Linked DNA regions of Homo sapiens: region 2 is linked to region 1. The links are contacts of gene promoters, found by promoter capture Hi-C in human tissues and cell types (Jung and others, 2019). All regions are on one chromosome and are shown on one strand. The core of a region is centred on a gene start or on the middle of the fragment in contact, and the rest is flanking DNA. Distances in the headings are between cores, read along the strand shown. Region 1 holds the start of VKORC1L1 (vitamin K epoxide reductase complex subunit 1L1). Region 2 has its middle 47 kb from the start of KCTD7.

The links. Contacts are between HindIII fragments. The study calls those that stand out against the background at their distance.
Region 2: a fragment that was not itself captured here is called in contact with the fragment with the promoter of VKORC1L1 in region 1 in 1 of the 25 tissues and cell types used here (heart left ventricle).

What each region holds. Positions count from the first base shown.
Region 1 is chr7:65,870,945-65,875,985 of GRCh38, reverse strand. VKORC1L1 (vitamin K epoxide reductase complex subunit 1L1) reads right to left here and starts at 2,912. Exons shown (of 3, transcript NM_173517.6): 1 at 2,421-2,912. The coding sequence starts at 2,614. RefSeq lists enhancers at 1,411-1,962, 2,514-3,065 and silencers at 2,131-2,200, 2,748-2,927, 2,641-3,140, 3,161-3,220. The HindIII fragment of the contact is 24,487 bases long and covers 1-5,041 here.
Region 2 is chr7:66,579,071-66,583,707 of GRCh38, reverse strand. It overlaps the pseudogene RABGEF1P1. Among named protein-coding and RNA genes, the nearest start is that of KCTD7, 47 kb to the left of the region's middle. The HindIII fragment of the contact is 3,079 bases long and covers 1,281-4,359 here.

The sequences.
Region 1 (5,041 bases), core at 1,663-4,162:
TTAATCTCTACCTTACCGTGTTTGGATTAAGACACAGGGCTTGCGAAATGAGAATAAAGTGAGTTTGAGCAATCCAAAACCACGTGCTGACTCTGGATCCTGGAAGATGATTTTCTTCAGAATCTTTGTCTGTTAACTTTCCTCTGGGCTCAAACTTTCTTTTCCTAAAAGAGTCACATATTTGAGTACTACTGCTACATGGCAATCACCACTCAAAAAAAACTAACTTGAGGTGTCCAATAATCAGCTTTCATTTAAAGTCTGTTTCAGGCTAGGCGCGGTGGCTCACGTCTGTAATCCCAGCACTTTGGGAGGCCGAGGAGGGCGGATCACGAGGTCAGGAGATCGAGACCATCCTGGCTAACATGGTGAAACCCCGTCTCTACCAAAAATACAAAAAATTAGCAGGGCGTTGTGGCGGGCGCCTGTAGTCCCAGCTACTCAGGAGGCTGAGGCAGGAGAATGGAGTGAACCCGGGAGGTGGAGGTTGCAGTGAGTCGAGATCGCACCACTGCACTCCAGCCTGTGTGACAGAGCAAGACTCCGTCTCAGAAAAAAAAAGAAAAGTGTCTTTCAGCTTGACAAAATAAAAACTTTCAATGATGTTTTGTCTACACACTTCCAAAAGAAAATGAGTCTATATATGTACATATATGTGATTATATATGTATATATACATATGTGATTTTGATCAGCCTGCATATAAACTACCTGCAAAACAAGTTGATTTGTAAATTCATTTATTAAATGGGTAGTTTATAAGCTACTTGATTTTTGCAAGTAGTTTATAAACAGGCTGATCAAATTGAACAAATTTCTTAATTTCACTGTATACATGGCAAATAAGTTATCTACTCTTCTTATTAGCAAATCTTATTTTTACCTACCCTCCTTTGGCAAGCATCTAAGTTAAACTATTTTATGTCCACAGCTACACAATGAAACATCACTTTCAGTCACAACATATTAAATTCACATTTAAAACTATAAAGAGATCCAGTTACCTTTAGTCTTACATGTACTTATACATACTTTTAATATACTACTTGATGTTTTATGCACAAACATGCAGCTCTTGCAGGATATAACTATGAGAATATTTAGAGTGTATGCTAAATACACTTTTTTAAAGACAAGTCAATTTTTAAAAATTATTTATTTATATTTTATTTATTTATTTGAGATGGAGTCTCATTCTGTTGCCCAGGCTGGGGTGCAATGGTGTGGTCTTGGCTCACTGCAACCTCTGCCTCCCAGGTTCAAGCAATTCTCCTGCCTCAGCCTCCCGAGTAGCTGGGACTATAGGCACATGCCACCACACCCAGCTAATTTTTGTATTTTTGGTAGAGACGGGGTTTCACCATGTTGGCCAGGCTGGTCTTGAACTCCTGACCTCATGATCCACCCGCCTCGGCCTCCCAAAGTGCTGGGATTACAGGCGTGAGCCACTGTGCCCGGCCAAGAAAAGTCAATTTTAAGCACTTAAGCAGGCCAGGCGCGGTGGCTCATGCTTGATTCCCAGCACTTTGGAAGGCAGAGGTGGGTGGATTACCTGAGGTCAGGAGTTCGAGACCAGCCTGACCAATATGCTGGTCTCGAATATGCTAATAGGCAACAACGTTTAAAAGTCATTCCAATGCCTAAAACACCACCATATACATAACATACTTGTCCTTTACTCCAATGAAGCTTAAACTAGACCCAAACTCAGACCATTTCCTTCTCCTGGCACACTGAAACATACGAGAGGGAATCCAAGAAATCAGATATGTTAAGTGCGGGTATCTTCTTCCACAGTAGGGTCAAATTCGTGTTTGCCAGCAAATGTCACCGTCCCAGTTAAGTCTGCAAATTCTCACTAGCGCTGGAGTACAAAGAGGCCTGACCACGGAAACACCTGTCCTAGCACCAGGAAGACAGTGGGAAAGGCAACCCCCCTGTCTCCGCGCCGGCCCCAAAGCCTCGGCTGCAGCGATCGGGGGGACAAGAGGTTGCCGCTGGTCTCAAGGGTGCGGTGGACAAGGTCCCACACCCCCGGCCCGCCTCCCGAGAACCAGGAAACCTGTCAAGCCAGCCTGGACCCACCCTCCGCAGCCCCCTCGCGCTCCTGCACAGCCGGGCCCCAGCCCGCCCGACCGCTCCGCGTCCGCCCCGGCCTCCCGGCTGCACTCTGCCACCTCATCCCTCCCCGGCTGCCTCGCGGCCCCGCCACCTCCGCCCCGCGGCCTGGGCTCAGGCCGCCCCCCGGGCAGGAGCGCCCCGCCGCCGCCCCCCGCCTGGCCCCGACCCGACCCCGTCAGTTCCCCAGCGGCCCGGTCCCCGCCGCCCCCAGGCCTGAGCTCCCGCCGCGCGCTCCCCACCCCGAGACTCCACCCTCGCCCCGCTCGGCCGCTCCTGGCCCACTCCCCCAAGCCGGCTACCTGGAGGCAAGGGCGGCGGAGCACTTCACCCAGGGCCCCAGGTCGCAGAGGGCCCGGTGCTCGGGGTCCCGCTCCTTCTCCCGCTCCACGTGGTAGGCGTAGATGGAGAGCAGGATTCCGGCAGCGCACACTGCATACCGGGCCACCCGCTCCCACCGCGGCACCGACACTCTTAGCAGGACGGGAGCCGCCATCTTCCCGCCGCCGCCGCCGCCGCCTCCCTCCGCCTCCACCTCAGCCGCCGCCGCCCGTCGGGGCCCGACCCAGCCGCCACCGCCGCCACCGCCGCCTCCGCCGCCGCCGCCACCACCGCCGCCGCCGCCGCCGCGCCCCATTGGCTCGGTGGCCTGCTCCGGGCCCCGCCCCCACAGGCGCGCGGCCCAACCGCCCCAAAAGGAGTGAGGCGGACGGGGCGGGGAAGGCGCGCGCGGGCGCGGAGGGAGGGGGTGGAGTGCGCAACGGCCGAAGAGGCCGGATCGGCGGGCGGAGACTGAGGCGGCGTGGCGCTGCGCCGCGCGGCCGGTCGCGCGCGAGGGGTGGAGCCCGGGGGAGAAAGGGGTGGGGCAGGGGTGGGGATGGGCGGGGCAGGGGTGGGGAGGGGCGGAGCCAGAGAGGGGCGGGGCCGAGCGGGCCAGTGCGGGAGGGACTTAAAGGAGCGGTCTAACTAGCACATTGCAAGGATGCCACTGTGGGTGACTGGGCGAACCCTCGGCCCCTCCCTCTGGGGATGGCAATCAATTGCCATCCTTTTTCCCTTTTTCGTTGTATATTTCTGACCCAATCCAAATCAACCCTGGCCAATGCTTGGAGCTCCAGAGACCCACACCTATGACCTGATCTTCCCACCACCACCTTCGGTTAGACCTGTGCAAAACTTTTTTTTTAATGTGCAAAACTATGTTTTAAATTTAAAAACTATTTTTAAAAAATGATTTATGGACCGGGTACAGTGGCTTACACCCGTAATCCCAACACTTTGGGAGGCCGAGGCAGGTGGATCACTTGAGGTCAGGAGTTCGAGACCAGCCTGGCCTACATGGCGTAACCGCGTCTCTACTAAAAATACAAAAAACAAACAAAAACAAATTAGCCCGGTGTCGTGGTGGGCGCCTGTAATCCCAGCTACTCGGGAGACTGAGGCATGAGAATTGCCGGAACCCGGGAGGTGGAGGTTGCAGTGAGCCAAGATCGTGCCACTGCACTCCAGCCTGGGCGATAGAGTAAGAGTCTCAAAAAAAAAAAGAGAGATTTACGAATGCCTTGCTTTTCCGTAAGCTGAATTTGAAGTTGCTTACCATAACTCATATAATATAGAAAAATAAAGATGAGCTAATACAATCAGGACGAAGAAAAAGAAAAGTCAGAATAAAATGAAAGGCCAGGAATAAGAACACAGATAAGCAGGCCATAGGGGCTTACATAGTTATTAAAATTGCATCATAAATTTGGCTCTGAGCTTCCTGGTGGCCAAAACTAAAAGGAAAACAGATGTATGTGCTTTTTCTCACTGTCTTTAAGAAGAAACACAGGGTTCTTGGAGATTTTCAGTGTTTCCCTGGTTGCAGCTTTCAATTTTTCAGGGGCTTTATATAGTGATTTTGAATAATAAGCAATATCCTTGTATTCGTTATCTATTGTTGGGTAAAAATCACCCCAAATTTAGCAGTTAATAAACAATAAACTTTTTTTTCCCTCACAGTTTCCACGGGCTAGGAATCTGGGTGAGGTTAGCTGTGTCCTCTGGCTCAGGCTCTCATGAGGATACAATCAAGCTGTCAGCCAGGGCTGCAGCTCTCTCAAGGCTTCAGAATCCTCTTTCAAACTCACTTCCACTGCTGCTGGCAGGCCTGAGGTCCTCTCTGGCTGTTGGCTGGAGACATCATTTCCTGTCCACTTGCACCTCTTGGTAAGAAGCGGCAGGCTTACCCCAGGGAGAGGGAGGAGAAAGAGGAAGAGACAGAAAAAGAAAATGAGAGTGAGATCACAGTCCTTTTTTGAAACCTAATCCCAGAAGTGACATCCCATCACTTTTACGAAGTCTATTGCTACTTAGAAAATAGTCTCTAGGTCCAGCCAGTCATGGTGGCTCACACCTGTAATCCCAGAATTTTGGGAGGCCGAGGTGGGTAGAGCACCTGAGGTCAGGAGTTCGAGACCAGCTGACCAACATGGTGAAACCCCGTCTCTACTAAAAATACAAAAATTAGCCGGATGCGGTGGCACATGCCTGTAAACCCAGCTACTTGGGAAGCTGAGGCATGAGAATCACTTGAACCTGGGAGGTGGAGGTTGCAGTGAGCCAAGCTCACACCATTGCACTCCAGCCTGGCTTACAAGGAAAAACTCCATCTCAAAAAAAGAAGAAAAAAAAGAAAGAAAGAAAGAAAAAGAAAATAGTCCCTAGGTCCAGCCCATGCTCAGAGGGAGAGGATTACACAGGACATGAATATGAGGAAGCTATCTACCACAGTCCTCAAAAACATCCTTGCTCTGCCCAGGTGGGGTGGCTCACAACACTTTGAGAGGCTGAGGCAGGAGGATTGCTTGAGGCCAGCAGTTCAAGACCAGCCTGAGCAACATAGGGAGCCCTGGTCTCTGCAAAAATATATACAAAATTAGCA
Region 2 (4,637 bases), core at 1,571-4,070, 710 kb before region 1:
CTCCCAGCAGAGTTACCCAGGATGTGCTTACTTCCCCAGCCTTAAACTCTACAACATGTGTGAAGTGTTTTTTATTGTGAAAGCTCATGTATGCCTCAGAATCCAGGGTTTTTATTGGAGACTGGTCACATAGTATATTAGTTCATTCTCACATAGCTATAAAGAAATACCCGAGACTGAGTAATTTATAAAGAAAGGAGATTTAATTAGCTCACAGTTCTACAGGCTGTACAGGAAGCATTGCAGCTTCTGCTTCTAGGGAGGCCTCAGGAAGCTTCCAATCATAGTGGAAAGCAAAGGGGGAGCAAAGTGTCTCCCCTGGTGGGAGCAGGTGCAAGAGAGAAGGTGCTACACATGTTTAAACAACCGGATCTCACAAGCACAGAACCACAGGGGATGGTGCGAAACCATTCATGAGTAACTGCCCCATGATCAGATCACCTTTCACAGGCCCCACTTCCAACATTGGGGATTACAATTCAGCATGACATTTGGGTGGGGACACAGTTCCAAACCATATCACATAGGCATATAGTCCCTTTGTGGTTATCACTTTTAGAGCAACTCCAGAAGGAAATCAGGTGTTTACCATAAATCATACAGTTTGCACAAAATATCTAGACAAGCTGGACAGTGTGGTTCAGTACCGTAACCATACAAAAACACCCTTATCATTTAGGGCATAGGGCTAGTACAAGACCTTAGTTTCTAGGAGCTGACCAAGGGCCAGTCTAACCCAGCTGACCAAGCAGGCCTGTCTGAGAATGTGCATCATTTGAGCAACTCAGGCCTGCTGGGTTAACTGCTTACACCATTTTCCTTCCCCTCCTCTCCCTTGCCTTCGCCACTCTTAACCTGGAAAAAGCACTAATTTGTCCTCCATATCTGTAGTTTTGTCATTTGGAAAGGTTGTAGAAATCCTAGAGTATGTGACCTTTTAAGATGCACTTTTTAAAAAACTCAACATTTTGCTCTTGAGCATCCAGGTCTTTACATGTGTTAATAGTTTGTTCTTTTTGGTGTTAGGTATTCTCTCGTGTGATCATGCCCCAGTTTATTTAACCATCCCATAGATGATGTTTATTTTCCCTTGTAAAGTTGGATAGCGTGTATAATTTTTTTTTTTTTTTTTTGAGATAGTGTCTTGCTCTGTTGCCCAGGCTGGAGTGCAGTGGCACCACCTAAGCTCACCACAACCTCTGCCTTCTGGTTTCAAGTGATTCTCCTGCCTCAGCCTCCTGAGTAATTGGGACTACAGGCGCATACCACCATGCCCGGCTAATTTTTGTATTTTTAATAGAGACGGAGTTTCACTGTGTTGGCCAGGCTGGTCTCAAACTCCTGACCTTGTGATCTGCCCACCTTGGCCTCCCAAAGTTCTGGGATTAGAGGCGTGAGTCACCGTGCCCATCCAGCATGTATAATTTTAACGTAATGGCTAATCACTCATGAGGGGAAGAAATGGCTAATCACTCATGAGGGGAAGAGATTTTTGAACATTTTTAAATAATAGAGACAGGGTCTTGCTATGTTGCCCAGGCTGGTCTTGAACGCTTGGTTTCAAGCCATCCTCCCACCTTCGCCTCCCAAAGTGCTGGGATTATAGGCGTGAACCATTGCACCTGGCCCCGGGGAAGGGATTTTTGTATTTATTAAGCAGTTAAGTATCATTGCTTTTTAGCCATGTTATTCTATAGTCTTTACAATAACCTTATTCATTCAGTTATTGTTCTTGCAACAAAGATTTGAGAACCTATGATATGCCCATTTGTGCAGGGAAAAAACTCCTCAAACTGTATTTTTCCTCTGCTCATGCCACAGCAGTCATCAACACAGAAGACTTCCATGACCATATGTGTGGGGATTCTTCCCCTACACAACACACCAGCTGGGTGTCTTCTAGTTCACTTTCTGCACTGGGTGTCTTTTAGTTCAGTTCCTGCACTATTTACCAGGAGATAGGGTCAGATCGCACAGGGTGAGGACTCAGTCACCATGACTGCCCCTCCTAACCCCCATCAGTTGCAACTCCGGGCCTTTAGGACTTCTAACTGACCAGCTTCAAGTTGGGGTTCCCATGGCTGCCTTTTTAGGTTCAATAATTTGCTGAGGTGGTTTACAGAACTGAGGGAGATGCTTATGTTTACCGGTTTATTACAACAGATATTGCAAAGGATCCAGGTGAAGGAGATGCTGGGGGCGAGGAATGGGGGAAGGTGCAGAACTTCCATGCCCTCCCTGGGCGTACACCCTCCAGGAACCTCCACTGTGCAGCTATCTGAAAGCTTCCCGGGCCCAGTTCTCTTGGGTTTTTATGGAGGCTTCCTGACATCAGCATTCGTCCCTCAGAGTATAGAGCTGGACCCTCGCTGGGGAGGGTTTAAGACCAATCCAGAGTAGAGTCCTGCCTTGGGGCAGGTAAAAGGAGGGCAGGAGAAAGTCAGAGAGGCTGCCCATGAGGCCTAACACACTCAGCCTTAAAACAAAAGCCTGGGGGTGGGCGTGGTGTCTCATGCCTGTAATCCCAGCACTTTGGGAGTCTGAGGTGGTCGCCTCCCGAGTAGCTGGGACTACAGGCGCCCACCACCACGCCCGGCTAATTTTTTTGTATTTTTAGTAGAGATGGGGTTTCACCATGTTTGCCAGGATGGTGTTGATCTCCTGACCTCATGATCTGCCCGCCTCGGTCTCCCAAAGTGCTGAGATTACAGGCGCGAGCCACTGCGCCCGGCTGAAAAGACTCTTTTTTCGCCATTGAATGGTCTTGGTACTTTTGTGGAAAATCAGTTGACAGAAGAATTGTGGGTTTATTTCTAGAATCTCAATTTATTCCGTTGATTTCTATGACTGTCCTTGTGCCAGTACCACACTGTAGTAATTACCATGGCTTTGTAGTAAGTTTTGAAATCAGGAAATGTCAATTTTCTTACATTCTTTTTCAAGATTGTTTTGGCCATTCTGGGTCCTTGTTCTCTTCTGCATTTTAGAGTTCATGTGCTTTCATTGGGCCCATCTAGATATCTAGCATAGTCTCCTTATTTTAATGATTAGTCAACTTAATTATATCTGCAAAGTCCTTTTTGCAGTGTAAGGTGACATAATCACAGGTGTAGCACCAGAGAGTGAAGGTCATGGGTGCACAGGTCCTATGAGGCTTAGTTGGGTGAAAAGGTGGAGAATGATAGGAGCAGAGAGGTTGGAGAGGGAGATAGGAAAGGGAGTTTCAGAAATATTACATAGTTTGCCTAAAGTTACATTTCCAGTACGTGGCAGAGCTGGGGTTGGAGTGCAGATAGGACTGATCTCTGTGATTTCATGGTCCACACCAAATCAGTCTTCTTAGACTCAGAGCTATTGTTTCTGTCTAATACATAGTGAGCTTTTATTGTATGCCAAGTAATCCACAGAGCACTCCTTTATGTTTTTCTAGCTCTTAAAGAGCATCTGTACAAGTCTTTTGGCATAGATAATAGGCTCTACTGGAACCAGCTTAAGAAAAAACGACAAAAGTAGTTAGGGGACCAGGGTGTATGACTCAGAATCTGAGGATGGGCGTGCATGTAAACCTTAGCCAGGGATTGGAACTGGGAGATTGAAATCACTCAGGACGTATAGGACCTTCTACTTTTCTCTGCTTCTTGGGATATGTCTATTTTACTCTGTAGACTGTCCTGATTCTCAGACCACTGGATGGAAGATGATCATGTCACACAGCTCCATCATTCAAGAGAACAGCCGTGACTTAGTCCCATTTCCAAAACTCCAAGCAAAAGACTCTAACACATTTGGAGGCAATCAGCTGTGACCCTGAATTGGGGGACTGTTCACCTCATACAAATATAGCTGCTGCCAGCTTATATTTGTGGATTGAGAGGACAGTTTCCTGATACACAGGAGGTATTTGCACGTGCTAGGCAGACTCCCCAAACTTATGTTCATTTTAGTAACATTGAGTAGTACTATCATACTTAACAGTACAAAATTTAAAAAACATAATTGATCTATGCGAAAAAATAAGTATTTCCTTTTGCCCATTTCTCTTGAAAGGGAAGAAAAGGGACACGGGATGATAATGGCAAGATTATTTATTTATTTATTTATTTATTTTTGAGACGGAGTTTCACTCTGTTGCCCAGGCTGGAGTGCCCTGGTGTGGGATCTTGGCTTACTGCAGTCTCTGCCTTGCGGGTCCAAGTGATTCTCATGCCTGAGCCTCCCGAGTAGCTGGGATTACAGGCAAGCGCCACCACACCTAGCTACCCACTGTGTTACCTCTAGTCCTTGACTGTAGTTGTGTCTTGGTCAGTATCCGTGTCTCCTGTTCTGTACTTCTCTCTAATCCAACCTAGAAATTGCCTCTCAAGTGTTTTGTTTTGTTTTGTTTTTTGTTTTTTTGAGATGGTGTCTCGCTCTGTTGCCCAGGCTGGAATGCAGTGGCGTGATCTTGGCTCATTGCAACCTTTATCTCCCTGGTTCAAGTGATTCTCGTGTCTCAGCCTCCTGAGTAGCTGGGATTACAGGCATCTGCCACCACGCCTGGCTAATTTTTGTATGTTTAATAGAAACGGGGTTTGCCATGTTGGCCAGGCTGGTCTCGAACTCCTAACCTCAGGTGATCCATCTGCCTCGGCCTCCCA